3 separate regions of the Homo sapiens genome follow, and regions 1 and 3 are each linked to region 2. Evidence: promoter capture Hi-C in human tissues and cell types (Jung and others, 2019). All regions are on one chromosome and are shown on one strand. The core of a region is centred on a gene start or on the middle of the fragment in contact, and the rest is flanking DNA. Distances in the headings are between cores, read along the strand shown.

What was found. Contacts are between HindIII fragments. The study calls those that stand out against the background at their distance.
Region 1: a fragment that was not itself captured here is called in contact with the fragment with the promoter of SIAH3 in region 2 in 2 of the 25 tissues and cell types used here (bladder and neural progenitor cells).
Region 3: a fragment that was not itself captured here is called in contact with the fragment with the promoter of SIAH3 in region 2 in 1 of the 25 tissues and cell types used here (hippocampus).

Annotation. Positions count from the first base shown.
Region 1 is chr13:45,884,643-45,887,342 of GRCh38, reverse strand. No RefSeq gene overlaps it. Among named protein-coding and RNA genes, the nearest start is that of SIAH3, 34 kb to the right of the region's middle. The HindIII fragment of the contact is 4,275 bases long and covers 1-2,700 here.
Region 2 is chr13:45,850,466-45,853,165 of GRCh38, reverse strand. SIAH3 (siah E3 ubiquitin protein ligase family member 3) reads left to right here and starts at 1,413. Exons shown (of 2, transcript NM_198849.3): 1 at 1,413-1,671. The coding sequence starts at 1,537. RefSeq lists an enhancer at 2,304-2,700. The HindIII fragment of the contact is 6,525 bases long and covers 1-2,700 here.
Region 3 is chr13:45,803,992-45,806,691 of GRCh38, reverse strand. The region is part of intron 1 of SIAH3 (siah E3 ubiquitin protein ligase family member 3); the gene reads left to right. Among named protein-coding and RNA genes, the nearest start is that of SIAH3, 46 kb to the left of the region's middle. The HindIII fragment of the contact is 4,222 bases long and covers 1-2,700 here.

The sequences.
Region 1 (2,700 bases), core at 22-2,521, 34 kb before region 2:
CTGTCTCCTCCATTACATTATAGATTCTTTGAATGCCCATACAACTCTAGACATTAAACTGAAAATAATGCACTATGAGGAATAAAAATTAGATCTTAAAAAATTTATGTTTATTTTGGTGAAATTCACACAACATAAAATTAACCGTTTTAAATTGCACAATTCAGTGGCACTTAGTACCTTCACACTGCTGTGCAACCACCACCTCTAGCCAGCTCCAAAACATTTTCATTGCGCCAAGAAGAAATTCCATACCTATTAAGCAGTCATTATCTATACTGCCCTCCTCCCAGCCCCTGTGTTCTGTCTCTACAGATTTACCTATTTTGGATATAAGGGGAATCTTTAATATGTGACTGCTTTGGTTTGGATATGGTTTGTTTCCACCAAAACTTATGTTGAAATTTGATCCCCAATGTGACAGTGTTGGGAAGTAGGGCCTAGTGGGAGGTGTTTGGGTCATGGGGGTGGATCCCTCAGGAATGGCTTGGTGCCATTCTCGCGCAGTACTTAGTTCTCATTCTCAAGAGACTGGTTTTATTCTCTGGGAATGAATTCGTCCTGCAAGAGTGGATTGTTATAAAGTGAGATTCCTCCTCCCATTTTGTGCCTCTTTGCATGTGTCTGCTTCCCTTTAACCTTCTCCACCACGTTATGACAGCACAGAAGCCCTCAGCAGATGCCAGCACCATGCCTGGAACTTCCCAGTTTGCAGAACCATGAGCTAAATGAAACCTTTTTTCTCTCTCTTTTTTTTTTTTTTTTTTTTGAGAGAGTCTCACTCCATCACCCAGGCTGGAGTACAGTGGCGTGATCTCAGCTCACGGCAACCTCCTCCTCCTGGGTTCAAGTGATTCTCCTGCCTCAGCCTCCCGAGTAGCTGAGATTACAGGTGCATGCCACCACGCCTGGCTAATTTTTGTATTTGTTAGTAGCAATGGGGTTTTGCCATGTGGGCTAGGTTGGTCTTGAACTCTTGGCCTCAAGTGATCCACCCAGAGTGCTGGGATTACAGGTGCCCAGTCTAAACCTCTTTTCTTTATGAATTACCCAGTCTCAGGTATTATGTTATAGCAACACAAAACAGACTAAGATAGTGATCTTTTGTGATTGACTTCCTTCATTTAGCATATGTTTTCAAGCTTCATTCACGTTGTAATGTGTATCAGGACATCATCCTTTTTTATAGCTGAGTAATATTCTGGTGTGTGTGTGTGTGTGTTTGTGTGTGTGTGTGCACGCGCACACACCACATTTTGTTTAATGATTCATTTGCTGATGGCCACTTGGATTGTTTCCAGCTTTTGGCTATGATGAATACTGTCATTATGGACATTCATGGGGAGCTGGGTCTTGTTCACCATTGCAGTCTTACGGCAGTAGGCCTGCAATCACTATTTATTAAATAGTTGGGTGGATGCTCAAAAAATGCCTGTAAAAAATGCCAGTGCAATAGATTTTAAGCTCCAAGTTTAAAAGGTGATGTTGCCTCTTCTCCTCTAGCCCCAAGGAAAACAGCTCACACTGTTTTGGTGCTTGACAAATGTTATTGGTGTTGACAGTGTTGATAATATAGGCAATAATAATGAAGGAGAAACCAAGAATGATGTTTCTTCTAGAATTGGTTCTGGTAGTAGCATTGCATTTCATAGAATCATAGGTGAATTTATGATCATAAAATTGGATAATTTAAAGACAAATGGCTTGTGTTTTAGATGTTCCTCAGCTCCTGCAGAAATCCAGAAAAGGTTAATCTTGTGTGGATTAGAATCCAAACAAGAATTATGATATTGGAAAAGAGCTTCACATCATCCCCACTTCTGCATAAGGGAGCATTAGAATTGCAGCACGCAGAGCAGGGCTGCTGCATGCTGGGCTCTAGAATCACCAAGATTCCAGCCTACTGAGAGATGACAGGTGACAGGCTTTCCTCTTTGGAGGAAAGGCAGCAAGCAGACCTGGAGTCAAAGAGAAGAAGCTGTGAACGGAATACTGACAGACCCTGAGGAAAGAGCCACGCGGTGGCAAATCAAAGCAAATCGCATTGTAGGAAGAAAAATCAGTCATGTAATGGCCTTTTCAGTGACACCTGAACAAATTGTTAGTAAGTATTTTCAAGGTATTCATGTGAATATAAAGTATATCCTAGTTTATGACACATTTTGAAGTATAATGAATTGCACAGTAATGTTGTTAGAGTCCTGCTCTAAAGTTGTGTGGGATGGAGAGCTTGAAACAATCAGTGATCCTACATTGATTCACTTATTCACTCATTCATCAAACACTTATAGAGTAATTACTATGTACAAGGATCTGTAGTATGGATGACTGGGTGGAGCTCATGGTCAATGGTGAGATACAATTTGGTCTTGAAGACAGAATAGAAATTTACCTGGATGGGCATGGACTGAGGAGAGGAAGGCATAGGACTGAAAATCAAACTCAGTGAAGATGGAAAGATATGACATAGGGACAAGGTTATTTTAAACTGCAGATAACGCAATTATTAATTTTAAATTATTTGTGATGCTCTATAGCTGGGCAATATTCAAAGAAAATGATTTTGGAGTAAAATATCTTACTTGTAATTTATTAAACAATGTTACCTGCCAACATTTAAAAAAGAATTGAGGTGATTTACAATAAAAATTCCTTATTCTCAACAAAAAAGAATTCTCTTTTGAGCACCTGAAGTTGGAG
Region 2 (2,700 bases), core at 164-2,663:
TGCATTATTTTTATCCCGTATGTTATTCTGTTGTTAGTTTAACTGCCTGACCAGGTCACAGACCTAGGTGTTCCACGTGTGCATATGTTTTGCATACATTACAACCCAAGCATTGTAGCCAGAGCAGAACAAGAGCCATGAGGGAGGGGGCTCACACTCACAGGGTACAATTCACAGTGGGGGCTGATCCTGCTCCAGGCAGCACTGGATCTGGCCTGACTTCTCAAGAGAGAAACAACCAGGGAAGAGGGAAAACACAATACACTGAACTCCCCTGCTTTAGCTGCAAAGACTAAACCATCAGAGCTAGTCCCGAAAAACCCAAAACCCTTCAAGTACTGCTTAGGAATCTTTCTTCAAGAACCAGCGGCCTCCCGCCCACCCACCAGCCCTGTTCTGGGGAGCAAGGACAGGTTTGCAGTCTGAGGACTGGAATGCCCTCTGCCTGTGCCAGCACAGAAATGTGCTGCTAGCATTTGCAGAAACAAGTAAATGATGTGGTATGTGCATCCTTAATCTCTATTTTAATGTCTCCAGCAATCTAGTGGTTAATTAGCAATTTGCTGCCCACCAATATGCAAATGAATGACAAGCAAAGGTTCTCTGCATCTGTAATTATTTTGCTGATTTACAAGCCTCTTTCCTCTCAGTGTAGGTTTTTCTGTGTGTGTGCATTCATGCATCAGGGATTTCATTATTTTTTGAAGCATACTCTGTGCATTTTTATCCTTTAATACTTTCAGACTTCAGTAATCACAGTATTTTGAAAAAAAGAAAATATATATATATGTATAGTAATATATATGTATGTGCTTCCCTCCACCCCTCAACTCCAAATGAATTTGTCAGGGATTCTTTTCTTTGATAAAGAGTGGAGAGTAAGATTTATCAAGGGGCTGTAATCCAAATTGCAGAAAGTCAGAACGCAAGATTGAAAGATACACATTTTTGCTGCTGCCAAGTCCTTATCTGGATTCAGAGTCTAGTAATATTTTATTTTCTCCCAAGCAGCTCTGGTGAGTCGAGCCATGATCTGCGTTATCCATCTGCCTACTTTGGAGCGGGGTGTTGTACTATTTGGCGGCTTAAACGCTTTACGTTCTTGCCAGGGCATTAAGAAAGGCTCTCATGTTAAATTAAGTCAATTAATAAATGGAGACACATTAAGCAATCAATTTTGTCAGCCTATCTCCCCAGCATTAGGTATGGTTGGCTGTAATCACAAGATAAATGCAATGTGCTGATCTATGGTAATGTTCAATAATACATTCTCCGCCAGGCTCAATTCATCAGGGAGTTTCGGTAGGGAAGGCATTTGTTATTGGCTGTCTCTGCACCTCAAGGATAACATTTCTGTCCTTTTGATTGGCCGCCTCACTGCTGCAAGATTCTAACCGTCTTATTTTGATGATGAATATGAAGGCGCGCTAAGCCGGGCTGGAGCGGAGTGTCTCAGAGGCTGCGCTCCTTCCAGGGCCCAAGGACTCACAGCTTCCTCCGCTGCCTTCCCGGACCAACAACCCCCCAAAAGTTGTGATGCTTTTCTTTACCCAGTGCTTTGGGGCTGTATTAGATCTCATTCATCTCCGGTTTCAGCACTACAAGGCTAAACGGGTTTTCTCCGCTGCCGGGCAACTTGTCTGTGTCGTCAACCCCACACACAACCTAAAGGTGAGTCTCTGTGTCATTTTACCTTCACCGGGCTCAGGTTCAAGTCCTTTCTCGGAGGCGGCAGCGACCCTCCGGCGAACGTGTGCAGCCCTTTGCAAACCCGGGTCTCGGGGGCTGGGACGGTGTCTGGAACCCGGCGTGTTTGCCTCGGCTCACTCTCGCTCTCTAGGTGATTGGGTGCTGTTAGTGACCGAGTGTTGTTTCCCCAGCTGGCAGGAAAAGCTGGATTGATGGTCTGATGTCTTTCCCCGACGCTGTCAACCTGAGAGTGGCGTGGGGGGCAGAAGTGAGGGTGGTGGAGGGAACAGGGGGGCGTCCCCATCACTCCCCCTACTATTTGTGGGCAAGTGCTCAGGAGACAGGATTTGAAGTTAGCCAAATTCTCTCTGTCCCATGTGTTGGGAGAGGTGGTCAAACACGAGGATTTTAGAAGCTACTGGGGGGTGAGGAATCCTGAAACAGGGACTTGGACGTCGGTGGGGTGGGGGGAGGGTTCTTTCTGCAAAGTGTTTGTCCTTGTCCTCAGACTCGTGTGTGTGTGTGTGTGTGTGTGTGTGTGTGTGTGTGTGTGTGTGGTGTCGGGAGGATTTTGGCTTATTTCCTTCCTGCTGGTTAGATGCGCTCTGTGTACTGGAGCAGGATTTGCCTGGCTTGTGTAATAATGACACCAGCTTCTAGCTGCTGCCGCCGCTGCCTGGAGCACCCTAGGCAGCTGGGTGCTGGGTTGCTCGCGGCTGCCTAGCTGCCCCGGGGCCTCTGCATTTGTACCCTCAGGTCAGTGCCCTTTTAGAGACCAGACAAAATATGGGGTCCGGCAGAGCCGCTTAACATCACAGCCAAGACTGACTGGGAAAGGAATGATGGGCCACTGGTTAGGGGTAGTAGGGAGGAGGGGAAGTCAGGGAGGTGGGGGCTGGGGAGAGGGTGCAGCTGAACTCCCCGGATGGGAAACTCAGCACCTTGCCTCTCTCCTAACATAAAAGATGGACTCATTGGAAGTTCCTTTCCTGTACTCCTGTGTAAGGCAGG
Region 3 (2,700 bases), core at 4-2,503, 46 kb after region 2:
TTTGTTACATGGGTAAATGACGTGTCACTAAGGCTTGGTATATGAATAATCCTGTCATCCAGGTAGTGAGCATAGCACGCAATAGATACTTTTTCAACCATTGTCTTCCTTCCACCCTCCCCACTCTCATAGTCCCCAATGTCTATTGGTGCCATCTTTATATGCGTGTGTACTCAATGTTTAGCTCCCTGTTGTAAGTGAGAACATGTGGTATTTGGTTTTCTGTTCCTGCATTACTTCGCTTAATATCATGGCCTCTAGCTCCATCCATGTTGCTGCAAAGGATATAATTCGATTCACTTTTATGGCTGTGTAGTATTCCATGGTGTATATGTACCACATTTTCTTTATCCAGTCCACCATTGATGGGGACCTGGGTTGATTCCATGTCTTTGCTATTGTGAGGAGTGCTGTGATGAAAATATGAGTGTGTTTATCTTTTTGGTAGAACAATGTCTTTTCCTTTGCATATATACTCCATAATGGAATTGCTGGGTCAAATGGTAGTTCTGTTTTAAATTATTTGAGAAATCTCCAAACTGCTTTCCACAGTGGCTGAACTAATTTACATTTCCACCAACAGTATATAAATGTTCCCTTTTCTTCACAACCTCATCAACATGTTATTTTTTGTCTTTTTAATAGCCATTCTGATGGGGACAAAATGGCATCTCATTGTGGTTTTGATTTGCATTTCTCTGATGATTAATGATGTTGAGGATTATTTCATATATTTGTATGTCACATGTATGTCTTCTTTTGAGAAGTGTCTGTCATGTCCTTTGCCCATTTTTAATGGGGTTATTTGGTTTTGCTTGTTGAATTAGGTTTCTTATAGATTCTGGACATTAGACTGTTGTCAGATGCATAGTTTGCAAATATTTTCTACCATTCTATAAATTGTCTGTTTAGCCTGTTAATAGTTTCTTTTGCTGTGCAGAAGCTCTTTAGTTTAATTAGGTCCTACTTGTCAATTTCTGTCTTTGTTGCAATTGCTTTTAGGGACTTAGTTATAAATTCTTTGCCAAGGCCACTGTCCAGAATGGTATATCCTAGTTTTCTTCTAAGATTTTTATAGTTTGAGGTCTTACATTTCAGTTTTTAATCCATCTTGAGTTAATTTTTATATATGGCGAAAGGTAGAGGTCCATTTTCATTCTTCTGCATATAGCTGGCTAATTATCCCAGCACAATTTATTGAATAGGGAGTCCTTTTCCCATTGCTTGTTATTGTCAACTTTATCAAAGATCAGATTATTGTAATTGTGCAGCTTTATTTTTGGGTTCTCTATCCTGTTCCATTGGTCTATGGTCTGTTTTTATACCAGTATCGTGCTGTTTTGGTTACTGTAGCTTTGTAGTATAGTTTGAAGTCAGGTAGTGTGATGCCTCCAACTTTCTTCTTTTTGCTTCATATTGCTTTGGCTATTCGCACTCTTTTTTGGTTCCATATAAATTTTAGAATAGTTTTTTTCTAATTCTGTGAACGGTAATGTTGATAGTTTGATAGGAATAGCATTGAATCTGTAGATGGCTTTGGGCAGTATGGCCATTTTGACAATATTGGGCATAGGAAGCTTTTTCATTTGCTTGTATCATCTATGATTTCTTTCAGCAGTGTTTTGTAGTTCTCCTTGTAGAGATCTTTCACTTACTTGGTTAGATGTATTCCAAAGTATTTTGTGTGTGTGTGTGTGTGTGTGTGTGTGTGTGTGTGTGTGTGTGTGTTATAAATGGGATTGAGTTCTTGATTTGACTCAGCTTGAACATTATTGGTGTATAAAATGCTACCAATTTTTGTACATTGATTTTGTATCCTAAAATTTTACTGAAGTCGTTTATCATCTCTAGGATCCTTTTGGTGGAGCCTTTAGGGTTTTCTAGGTATAGAATCATGTCATCAATGAAGGGAGATACTTGGACTACTTATTTTCCTGTTTGGATACCTTTTATTTCCTTCTCTTGCCTGATTGCTCTGGCTTGGACTTCCAATACTACGTTGAATAGGAATAGTGAGAGTGGCCATCCTTGTCGTGTTTCAGTTCTTAAGGAGAATGCTTCCAGCTTTTGCCCCTTTAGTATAATGTTGGCTGTGGGTTTGTCATAGATGGCTTTTAATATTTTGAGTTATCACATACCTTTTAAAGTGTATAATTCAATTGATTTTAGTATATTCACGGAGTTGCACAACCATTACCGCTATCTAATTTTAGAATGTTTTCAACACCCCAAAAGAAATCCCATATTTGTTAGCAACCACTCCACTCTACCCTCCCTCCAACCCTTGGCAACCCATCTTTTTTCTGTATCTGTGCATTTGCCTATTCTGGACAGTTCATGTAAATAGAATTATATAATATGTGATCTTTCGCCACTGGCTTCTTTGACTTAACATAATGTTTTCAAGGTTTATCTATGTTGTAGCATGTAGTAATAACAATATATTAATATTAAACACATTAATAGAATTAATAGTAATAACAAACTTGCCTAAATAATATATAGCTTTTATTTTTAAAAATATAATATGTATGCCCTCCCCAAGCTTGCATTTTTGACATTAAAGTTAACTTTTAAATTAAAAGTTTTTAATTGGGGAAGAAAAAATATATGTAAAATAATTATTTTTGTAAAAGTTCCAGCCACAGTTTACTTTTTAGGAATCAATGTGTTTTCAGTGTATAATTGTACATATCTCTA